Regions from separate parts of the Homo sapiens genome. Here region 1 is linked to region 2. Evidence: promoter capture Hi-C in human tissues and cell types (Jung and others, 2019). All regions are on one chromosome and are shown on one strand. Each heading gives the region's core, a stretch centred on a gene start or on the middle of the fragment in contact. The rest is flanking DNA. Distances are from core to core; before and after follow the strand shown. Region 1 overlaps LINC03039 (long intergenic non-protein coding RNA 3039). Region 2 holds the start of SIK1 (salt inducible kinase 1).

Region 1 (5,803 bases), core at 2,184-4,683, 38 kb before region 2:
TGTGTGTGGTGTGCGTCCGTGGTGTGTGTGGGTGTCCCTGGTGTGTGTGGTGTGCGTCCCTGGTGTGTGTGGTGTGTGTCCCTGGTGTGTGTGTGTCTGTCCCTGACGTGTGTGTGTATCTGTGCACACGGCTGCCCACCCACAGGCTGTCCTGGCCAGGTGCCTGGTTCTCCCAGGCCCTGCAGAACACTCTGTGCGGAGTGGGCCCAGGAGGTGGGATTCCTGCAGAGCCGGTCCCTCTGGCCCTCGGGGTCTGCGCATCTTGGACAGTGTCCTGTGGGCTGCTCTGAGCCCAGGCACTGCTTGCAGGGCAGATGGGACACCGGCTGGAGGATGCCCACAGCCCATGGGCTGGTTGCTGCTGTCTCCCGCCTGCCTGCCAGGGGCACAGCCGGGGGTTTAGGGTGCAGCCTCCGGCCCGCTGGCTCAAGTTTCCAGAAGAGTCTGCCACAGACAGATCTCATGTAGCAAAGGGCAGAGGCCAGAGGTGGACTCCACACGGGCCTGCAATGGGTGACTGTGGGCAAGTCACCAAACCACGCAGGGCCTCCTGGTCACCGACCAGTCACCACCCCTGTCCCAGGGTAGGTGATGAGACAAAGCCCTTCCCTTGGCCCTGGCAGAGAAGTGAGGAGCAGCCGCTCTGCCTTAGTTTATAAAATGGGAAGAACAAGTCCCTGAGGGTCAACGTTTGGGGGACCCTGCAGAGACTGGGCACAAAGTGTCCTGCACATCTAGGATCAGGCAGGTGATGCTCAGACAAGTTCCAAACACATGGGGAACCAAAATGTGGTTGCCCCAAAATGTGGTTTTGGGGACCCCAACACCTGGGGTGGGTGGGCACAGCGTGCTCCTGTGTTGCTGAGAGCCAGAGAGGAAGTCTCCAACCCCACAGGGCTTTCCTGATCCGGGCATCTCGGCCCGGGGCCTGGCTGCTGGGCGGGCCCCAGGAGTGCCCCCATGGAGGGCCTTCTGGGATGACATTGGCCTGTGGCCACTTCTGCAGCCCCAGCCCAGCCTTCAGGTCTCTCCTGCTTCAGAAGCCCTTGGCCATCCCCAGGCACCTCCCGGACATTGCCCAGAGCGGCGGCCCTAAGACGACAAGAGCTGTGATGCCCCGTTGGTGCCGCTAGGACTGCCCAGCCCTCCTGCTGCTCCGTGGACCTCCGGGGTCTGGGATGGGTGGGTGGGGCCCTTCCTGGTGACTGGCGTTTACTGGGCTTCTGTGGGGCCACCAAGCACCGACACAGGGTCAGAGTGAGGAGCGAAAGCCCTGACGCCTGCCCTCATGGGGAGTCGGTCTCCTCTGGACACGGCCTTGTTCCAGTGACCACAGAGGCTGGCGAGTGCCACGTGGTCCCCACTGCATCACACACCTCCCACGCCCTGCCCGGCGTCAGGGACAGGAGGCTCAGGGAAGCGAAGGACACTGCCCAGGGGCACGGGGCTGGCCAGGGCTCGCCCAGGCCTGCCTGCCCCAAAGCCCAGCTCCTCTCTCCACCCGGCTCCTAGCTTTGTCCCAAAAAGCCGGAAGGACCAGACACTTGGTTTGGGGCAAAACTTAAGTGGGAGGGTGCTAAAAAAAAATCAAGATCAATAACATTTTAGTGTAATACTTTTAAAAATTAAAATTAATGCACAATTCATGATGAACGAAATGTCAAACTTCTAAACAAGTCAAGGCCCGCCTCTGTGTGGCACAGCCCTGGGGGCGAGTGCTCAGCCCACCCCAAACCCCTGGGCCGGGCTCCAGGGAAATGCTGCCAGCTTCCCACTTCCAGCAGAGCCAGCCCCTCAGCTGTGAGACGGTTTCCACAGCGACCAGCCCAGGTAGCGGGGAGGCTCTCCAGTTCAGGGGATGCTAGGAGACACTGGGAAGGGGGATCCCTGCTGGGAAGAGCCAGGAAGGGGCTCCACAATTCCTCTGGAGGAAGCACGACCTCCAAGGATGAGGAGAGGAAATCCCTCCAGCCCAGGAATTTCCCAAGCCAGAGCTCTCTGCCTCATGAGAATGGAGCCACCGTCCCCAGCGCCAAGGGAGGCTGCTCCCTCCCTTCCTCCTTCCCTCCCTTCCTCCCTCCCTCCCTCCCTTCCTCCTCCCTGTCCTTGCCCCCCGGGAGCCTAAGAGCTCGCTACCTGGGGTGAATGCCCAGTAGACCGTGCAGTTCTGATTTTCTCACACACTGCACTTTTGGATGATTACTTATGGATGCTAGCCATTACGAAGGAAGCAAAAAGCCGTGTGCAGTGCAGGACTGAGTTTGCTTGATTAAAAGGCCTCGCCAGTTGCTGACGCCCTGGGGTTGCGTCTGAGGGGCGGTGAACGTGGCCTCCAGATTTCTCTTGCTGCGAGGCTTGGGCACATCCCGATGGCAGTTGGCTGTGGGGTGAACGGGGAGTGCCAGGCAGGAGGCAGGGGCCTGGCAGGAAATAGATGTTACATGCAAATTGAATCACTTAAGGAGCATTTAATAAAGGAATTACAAGAACAGGACAGACTTGGGAAACCAGGAGGGATGGGTGCTCAAGGGGCAGCCCGGGCAGGAGAACCGCGTCTTCCCAAGGCCTGGAGAGGGAGGGCAGGAGCCAGTGCCGACCCAAGCCTTGTAGCTGTCGGTAAGAAGGCCTGGACAGGAGCCGCTCCCCACCCCTGACACACACAAAGGACACAGTGAGTCCCAAGCCCTTGGAGGGCAGTGGAAACGCCCCCTTAACAGGCAACGTTCTTCCGAGAAACAGAACCAGGGGGATTTGTCCCGGCTTTCCTGACATGAAAAAAACAATAGGCGGTTCATATACACGTATATATATTTAGACAATAGGCGGTTTACATACACATATATATGTTTAGAGAACAGACGGTTTACATACACGGATATACGTTTAGACAACAGGCAGTTTACATACACGGATATATGTTTAGAGAACAGGCGGTTTACATACACGGATATACGTTTAGAGAACAGGCGGTTTACATACACGGATATACGTTTAGAGAACAGGCGGTTTACATACACGGATATACGTTTAGACAACAGGCGGTTTACATACACGGATATACGTTTAGAGAACAGGCGGTTTACATACACGGATATATGTTTAGACAACAACAGGCGGTTTACATACACGGATATATGTTTAGACAACAGGCGGTTTACATACACGGATATATGTTTAGACAACAGGCGGTTTACATACACGGATATATGTTTAGACAACAGGCGGTTTACATACACGGATATATGTTTAGACAACAGGCGGTTTACATACACGGATATATGTTTAGACAACAGGCGGTTTACATACACGGATATATGTTTAGACAACAGGCGGTTTACCTAGACGGATATATGTTTAGAGATTTATTTTAAGGCATTGGATCCCGCAATCATGGGGGTTCAAAACCTGCAGGGCAGGCGGCAGGCAGGAGACACGCAGTAGGGCACGTCACCGTCTTGAGGCAGGTGTTCTCAGTGAAACCTCGGTTTTCACTCTTAAGGGCTTCCTTTGAAGGGATGAGTCCCTCCCAGAAAAATCGAGGCTAATCTCCTTCAGATCATCTGATTGTGGATATTGAGCTCCTCTGCAGGACACCTTCCCAGCTACACCTGGGCTCATGTTTGAGCACTTAGGTACTGTGGCCTGGCCAGGATTACAGGTAATGCAAACCTCATCCTCCCCATTTTGCCTCTCCCATCCTGGGCTTCTCTGCCAGGGCTTCCTAAGGGCTGAGCCAGAGGCGGAGAGGGCCTTGGGGGCATGCAGAGAGCTCAGCAGAGCAAGAAGAGGTCAGCCAGGCTGGGGGTCCCGGCGACTCAGGCAGGAGCCTGACGTTTAATTCCAGGTCTGCAGGAAACCATCTTGAGCTCCAGGTGGGAGAGGGTTCCCTGTGATCAGATTCTGAGCCTCGGGCGGGAGAGCGTTCCCTGTGATCAGATTCTGAGCCCCAGGCGGGAAAGGGTTCCCTGTGATCAGATTCTGAGCCCCGGGCGGGAGAGGGTTCCCTGTGATCAGATTCCACAAAAGAAGAGCTTCTTCCTTCCCCTCCCATTCCCAGTCACCCATGAGACCCGTGGCTACCTGGTGGTGGCATGTGGGGCAAACGCCTGTGTTGACCACCTGGGAGGTTTGGTTTCCTCCACTAGAAAACTGGAGAGCTGAAAACATGTCCTTGTAGAACATGTGAAATGACCTCCTGGGGTGCCTGACGCTGCCCGTGCGGGCTCTGGCGATGCCTCAGTGGCTTCCTAAGACACCCTCCTTCACCCCGTACAGTCTCCGGTGCAGAGATGGACGAGCTGGGGGACTCAGGCAATTTCCCCCACAAAGTGTTGCAATGGATTGAGAACGCCTCCCGGAGTGTCTGAGGCCACCTGCATTTTCAGAAGAAAGTTCCACTTTCTTCAGAACAGATAACGTGGTGCTTTGACTGCCATTGTTATCTGCTGCACCGAGTCAGGAGAGGCTGGGCCGTGACGTGACGCAGTAACAAGCAAACCTCCAAAATCTCACAGCTTAATCGCGCTACAGCGTATTTCTCTCTAGGGCAAGCAGCACACGGATTGTCAGGGCCCTCCTCCAGGGTCACTGGGGGGCCGGGTTCCCCATCTCCTAGTGCCGCCCTCACAGACATGCCTCCAGGGTCCCACGGCAGAGAGGGGCCTGTGGAGGAGGCATGCAACCTCTGAGTGTGTTGGCAAGCCGACTCATGGTCCTTCTGCTCAGAGCCCATTGGCCATGGCTGGTCACATGGTCCCAACCTCACCTCGAGGGACGCTGGGCCTGAAGGAAAACACACAGAATATTTAGAGAATTCTCCTGCCCTTCCTCTATGGAAATGTGGGACAGCTGGGCATGTCTAAAATTAATTGGTTTTTAAGAATGTTCAGTAAGATCCCATCCTGGGAAGAAAACCCTATTTAAAAATATATCATATAGAATATATAAAACATATACACATACAGATATAGACTGTGTGTGTTTTCTATTTCCATGTAGCAAATTACCCCAAAACTGAGCAGTGTAAAACAACAAACCTTCATTATCTTACAGTTTCAGAGGCTCCAGGATTTGGAAGAAGCCCAGTGGGGTGGCTGTGGCTCAGGATCTGGCACGAGGTTGCCGCCAGGACGGCAACACCTGCACGTGCGACTGGGCTGGGGGATCCGTTTCCAAGGAAGCTTGCTCACATGGCTGCTGGGGAGAGGCCTCCAGTCCTCACAAGGCCATTGGTGGAGGCTGCAGCTCCTCACAGGCTATTGGCGGGAGGCCTCAGTCCCTGGCCTCATAGGCTTCTCCACAAGGCTGCTTGAGCATTCTCCTAACATGGCGACTGTCTTCCCCCAGAGTGACCCCAGGGAGAGCAAGGTGGGATCCACAAAGCCATTTGTGAACTAGGCTTGGACATCACTCACTGTCACACAGGCCAACTCTGATACAATGATACCAGGACGCTGTGATGGCCAATTTCATGTGTCACCTTGACTGGGAAGAGGTGGCGAGATATTTGGCCGCATGTTCTCTAGGGTATCTGTGAGCTGTCTCTGGGTGAGATCAGCATTTGAGTTGAAGGACTGAGGAAAGTCCATGGCTGTCCCCTGCGTGGGCGGGCATCCTCCAATCCCTTGAAGGCCTGAGCAGAACAAAAGGCTGAGGGAGGGAGAGCCCACTTTCTCTGCCTGAAGGTCTTCAAGCTGATGGGATCTTGTCCAGCCTTCAGATTTGAACTCGGCTGCATCATCAGCTCTCCTGGGTCTCAGGCCTTCAGACTCAGATGGTGACATAGGCCCTCCTCCGTCTCCAG
Region 2 (5,711 bases), core at 1-2,500:
GAACTAAAAACGGTTACTATTTACCCACCACGACAATCAAGCCTGGAGCAGTGAATCTGCATGGGGTCCACCCGCCAAAGGTCGGGTCGCCCCGGGTCCAGTGGGGAGGCCCCGCCGGCTGGGTCCCACCGCCCCCACGCACCTGCGTTTTGGTGACTCGATGCCGCGCCAGCTTCACCACCGCGAAGTTGCCTTTGCCCAGGGTCCGCTCGATGTCGTAAAAACCCACCCGGAGGGGCTTCTGCTGGCCCTGACCCTGGCCCGCGGGGTCCGCGCTGAACTCCGACATGATAACCATGGCTCCGCGCGCACCTGCGGGGCCGCACAGAGCTCAGAGCCCACCAGCGCCCCCGCCGCCCGCGGTCGGCTCCATCCGTGCCCGCGGAGCCCCCAGTCCCCACGGGACGCAGGGACCTGCTCCCACGCCTGTCGCCCCCACTCTATCCACGGGCCCCTCCAGCCCCGTGGGAGGTGTGGACCCGCCCCCGCCGCCCGCTCCACCCGGACCCCCGACCCTCTTGAGCCCCGCGGGGCGCACGGACCCGCTCTCATAGAGGCCCCTGCCGCCCGAGTCCGGTTCCGTCCCGATCCCGGGACCCCCTGAGCCGGGATTCCACACTCGCCTCCCGCCGCCCGCTGTCGGTTCCGTCCCCACCCTCGACCCCTTTAGCACCTCTGGGCGCGGACCCGCTCCCACACCTGGCCCTGCCACCCGAGGTCGGCTCGATCCGGATCCCAGGACCGTCCCCTGCCCCGCTCCCACACCCTGCCCCCGCCGCCCGCGATCCGTCCGGTCCCCACCCCCGACATCCCAGGCACCTCGGGGATCGCGGACCCGCCCCCCACACCCGGTATCTCCGCCCGCGGTCGGCTCCAACCTGACCCCCGGCTCCCCAGCCCCTGAGCCCCGCGGACTCACTCCTACCCCGGCCCCCCAACAAAGGGGAGCCCGAGGGCGGCCAGGCCGCCAACCCCGCCCGCGAACCCCGCGCGCGCAAGGCCAGGGACCCTGCGCGGTGGCTGCAACCCCGAGCCCCGGCCCGGCGCCCGCGCGGAGCCCCCACGGCGGCCACCTCCGCCCGCCCGGAGCCCGCCGCTGCCGCCGCTGCCGCCGCTGCCGCCGCCTCACCTCCGCCGCCACCGGAGCGCCCAGGCCAGGAAGCCGCCCGCTCGGCCGCTGGCGCTGCTCGGGTGCCTACTGCTCCGGCTGCCGCCGCCGCTGCTGCTGCCTCCGGGGCCGCGCCGCATGTCAGCCCGGAGCCGCCGCGCTCCGCCGCACGCGGCGCCCGGCCCCGCCCCGGCCCGCCCCGGCCCGCCCCCCGTAGTCCCCGCCCCCTGCCCCGCCCCCGCCGCCCGGGCGGGGGCCGCCCATTGACGTCGCTTTGACGCCAGAGCGACGCGCGGCCGAGCGCCGGGCGGAGGGAGAGCGGGAGATCGGGCGGTTGCCAAGAGACTGGCGGCTCTGACGCGCGCGGGATGAGGCCGTTGCCCTGGCGACCGCGGGCCGGTGACGTCAGGGGCGCCCGCCGCCCGAGGCCCGCCCGCCTGCGCTCCGCCGGGCGCCCCCTCCCGGGCGCTGGGGGCACTGCGGGCGGCCCCACCGCCGAGGGCGCGCCCGCCCCTCCACGCTCGGGCACTCGGGCCGGGTCCCGCGGGCGCCTTGTGCTCGCTCCCTCCAGGAGGGGACGGCTCTCGGGCAGGGGTCGCCGGCCCCTCCACGCGGCCTGCGTTCGTCCAGACTCAGAGCCTCGGGACGTGCGGGGGCCCGGGGGCCTCGCGGGCTCGCGCGTGGGGCTGGCGGCGCGGATGCCCTGGGGCGCTGCAGACCCCGAGAGGCCGCTTGCCCGCGGGGACGTCAGCCGCTTTTGCTGTTAAAATCTGAAATGTTCAGCAAGTTAGAAACTTGAAACCTAAGGAAGCGTGACCGGCCGCTCTGGAAGCCCCCGCCGCGCGGCCGGTCCCGGCCCCGGCCCTCAGCGGCGCTGGCGTCTGCGCGTCCCGGGGCTGCCCCCGCAGCATGTGGGGCTGGGACCCTCTTCCCGCGCGGGCCCCGGGCGGACGCTGCGGGCGGTGACGGAGCCAGGCCGGCCGCCTGGGTAGGGGACGGGGGCGCGGGACCACTTGCTTGCCCGTGGCCGATGCCTCATCCGAACGGAAAACGTTTTCTTCAGGGGAGACAGAGGCTGTGGGCGAAGGTATTTTTTAAGCCTGAGGACCCATTTGGGAGTTAGATTCTGGATCGAGCCTAGGGTCAGTTTTCCTTGTGTTAAATAACACTACTTCACAGAAGGGGGAACGAGAATTCAGGGGAGTTGGCACAAAACTTGGAACCCTTCTCGGGAGGCTTTCCTGCCTGGACGGACGCCTGGGAGGAGGGCCCGGAGAAACGAGGATGAGCTTCTCCTCATTCGCCCGAGGGTCTGACCACAGATTTCCCAATCGCCACACACACACACACACACACACACACACACACACACACACGGGTTGTTTGGGAGTCAGTTGGTTTTCAAAGGCTTTCAAGGAAATGAAGAGTCCCAAAGTTTTCCTTAATCGTTCAGAGTGTTTTTCTTTGTCCCAGGTTTATATACCAAGAATACGGGGGAATATTTTTAGTTCCTTTCAGCTGAACAGTGTACAACTGCCTTTTTTCCTTTTGGAGGTCCCAACACCCTGTTAATCCGCTCCTAGGAGAACTAAACAAAAACAAGGCTGGACGTCGTGTCTCCCGCCTGTAATCCCAGTGCTTTGGGAGGCTGAGGCAGGAGGATCAGTTGAGCTCAGGAGTTTGAGACCGGCTTGGTTAACATAGCAAGACCTCACCTCTATAAAATACTTTTAAAATAGCCAGGTGTGGTGGCACACGCCTGTGGGGCCGGCTACTTGGGAGCCTGAGGTGGGAGGATGGCGTGAGCCTGGGAGGTTGAGGCTGCAGTGAGCTGTCATTGCACCACTGCACTCCAGCCTGAGCAAGAGAACAAGGCCCTGTCTCAAAAAAGAACAAAGATAAAAGGCGGGGTGGGGGAGAAACCAGGCCCCTGATCACACTCACCATTCAGTCCCTCAGCCTGTGACTTGAAATACTGCCCCCCGCATCCAGGAAGCAGGCTTCCCCACCCCTCCCACCCTAGCCAGAGTCTTCCAAAAGGTCTTAGGTATTTGCAAACACCTGGCTGGCTGTTTGGAAACATTGCATCAGCACCAAATAAAAACTGCAGCCAAAACTGCCTCCGCAGAACAGGTCCCCAAACTCAGGTGCACTTGACCTTTCACCCTGACCCAGCCCTGAGCTTCCAAAACCCAGAACAGCCCTGTGCCAACCATGGCCATCCTGTTTTCCCTTCCCTGGGCCCGTGGGCAAGGAGCTCGCTCTGCAGAGAAAGGCAGGAAGCACAGAGGAAAAGGCCAAGCTTGGAACGGCTGTCCCGTCTCCCCACTGGGGGAACCCCTGGCACCCTCATAACTAAGTCTGTGCTTCAACCTGGTCTCTGTTACCCAATGTCTTTTGTTGTTGTTTGTGTCCTTGACCCCCCGAGGCTGTATTTCCTCTCAGAAGCTTTGATTTCTTTTCTGTTTTCTGGTCTTCCGTGCCTTTAACACGAGGAAAAATAAAACACATGGTGTGAGTGTAAGGATGGTACAAGCAAATGATTGGAGAAGCTCCTCACTGAACATAATGGAAGGAATGCTCCCAAAGTCTGCAGGAACGGTACTTTATTATTATGGTTTGCATATTATTACAGATTTGTGGAAAACGGCAAGTCAGTTTTCCTTTCCACATGGACTTTCTTCAGCTTGTCTTATGATTGCCGTGTTTCTGGAGTTCATCTTGTTTTTTAGGCCTTAAGACTGGAAACCCCAACAGGAAATGGGTCCATTTATTATTCATAGTTGTAACGCTGGCCACTGGCATGTCACAAAACTCTCAAAATCAATTGATAAACACAGAGAATGGAGCGTGGGGCAGCATTTTTGCAAAGGGATGGGTGCCCAGCTGGCCCCAGTGCCGCCCTCTGTGAGGAAGGAATCTCCCAGTGCAGCCAGGAGTCAGACGAGTTCCTCTTCCCGACCCTACCCTCCCATCTTCGACGCCTAAGGCCCTTCCCTGTCTTCCTGGCTTTGCTTCAGGTGGTTTTGTACTTTTTAAATTTTGTTTTGGTTTGTTTAGGCTTCAGCCTAGCGGCTTTAGGTGCCAGAAAATCAGATTAACCACTGCAGCGGCATCCTTCTCAGGGACCCGGGGGCCACGTTGGTCATTTTGCCCCATTGTATCTGGAGAGCTTGACAGACAGACATGTGTGCACTAGGTCAGGAAGCCACGGCCCTGGCCTGGGAAGAGGGCAGGTAGGAGAAAAGCCCCCAGCCCCCTCCACCCTCAGGGAATGGCCCAGTTGTCCACAGGTTAAGTCAAGAATCCCCCGCGAACAGGTCAAACCAGAGACTGCCCAGTCCCAGCGTCCGCCCCCAGGGCATTGCTTCCTTCACCTCCTACACTTGGCTCCCTGTGGTTCCGTGGCTGCCACAGTTGTGTGGATCCTACCGGGCCCAGGGCCCCTCCCCATCTCAGACAGCACCCACTTTCAGGCTAGGCCTTCCACGGGCTGCTTAAATGGACCACGAAGGCCGGCAAAGCAGCAGAAACGTGCCTGTTCACGGGCCAGTCGGCCCTCCCCGCTCCAGCCCTCTAGGGTTTCTGGTTCCGGTTTCTGTCGCTGCCGTTAGTGAGGAATTATTCATGTGGCCAATGCGTTTTCTTGACATTTAAGCAGGGCTGTGGCCGATATCAAGGCTGAGGACCCAAGAGGCCTTTGGGTGTCTGTGTCCCTGAGCCATATGCTGAGGTCGGACGGCGGGGGAGGGGGGTGCAGGAAGGGGCCAGCCCCAGCGAGAGTCAGCCAGGCCCCAAACAGAGCCAGGGGTTCCCCCGGGGGGGAGTGCTCACTTAGGAAGAGCACCATGGACAGCCTGGCAGGAGGTCACCCTGTGCTGAGCAGGCAGCGCTGGAGTAAACCACCTGCCTCTCTGTAGGAAGAAGGAAACCGCATCCGCAAACGGAGCAAAGGTCCCCAGAGGCAGAGCAGAAGCCTCTGGGATGCTGCAGCTTTGTGCAGACACTGGGGACCAGGACTGGAGCAGGTGCTGGCCGTGCTCTTTATCCTGGGCACTCTGCCAGGGCCACACGGAGCGTGGCTCCCGGGAGATGGAGACGTCTGAGTGTCAGCTCAGGTCTCGGTGTTTCCAGGTGACATGCTGGCTGCTAGTGTAGAGCATGGTAAACCATCTTTTTTTTTTTTGGTTACTATTTACTTATGCAAAATAATGTGAGTTTCTGCCATTTGCAACAAGTGTGCCAGCTGCAATGAGTCAGCGGGTGGACACAGGTGAGCATGGCCAGACTGTGCCAGAACATGGTGACAGACAGACATGCTTCGAAGTTCACTGTGGGAAGGGACAGGTCCCCAGAGAGAGGTGAGACGGTGCAACGCGAGGGTGAGTTCGGAGTCATCCTCCAGATGTCCACAAAGGCTCGAGAGGCCCTGCTGTGTGTCAGGCACTGCGTGAAGGTTGTGGGCACAGTAGGAGGGACACAAGACACCTTCTCTCGAGGACCGTTGGTTCCAGTTGCGGAGACAGTAACAGCATAAGATGATGAGTAAGAAAAGAATGCTGGCAGGAAAGTGGCCATGGAGGGAACTGCTTCCGGGCCTCTC

What was found. The method cuts DNA at HindIII sites, captures the fragments that hold promoters and counts their contacts. A contact is called where the count stands out against the background at its distance.
Region 1: a fragment that was not itself captured here is called in contact with the fragment with the promoter of SIK1 in region 2 in 3 of the 25 tissues and cell types used here (bladder, dorsolateral prefrontal cortex and spleen).

What each region holds. Positions count from the first base shown.
Region 1 is chr21:43,385,809-43,391,611 of GRCh38, forward strand. It overlaps LINC03039 (long intergenic non-protein coding RNA 3039), which reads right to left. Exons shown (of 3, transcript NR_176219.1): 2 at 5,037-5,803; 3 at 2,791-4,782. Among named protein-coding and RNA genes, the nearest start is that of LINC03039, 11 kb to the right of the region's middle. RefSeq lists an enhancer at 1-312 and a silencer at 5,327-5,527. The HindIII fragment of the contact is 6,673 bases long and covers 98-5,803 here.
Region 2 is chr21:43,425,881-43,431,591 of GRCh38, forward strand. SIK1 (salt inducible kinase 1) reads right to left here and starts at 1,251. Exons shown (of 14, transcript NM_173354.5): 1 at 1,130-1,251; 2 at 143-312. The coding sequence starts at 298. It overlaps LOC124905029 (a long non-coding RNA gene), which reads left to right and starts at 3,704. Exons shown (of 3, transcript XR_007067891.1): 1 at 3,704-5,711. RefSeq lists a silencer at 4,849-5,143. The HindIII fragment of the contact is 13,239 bases long and covers 1-5,711 here.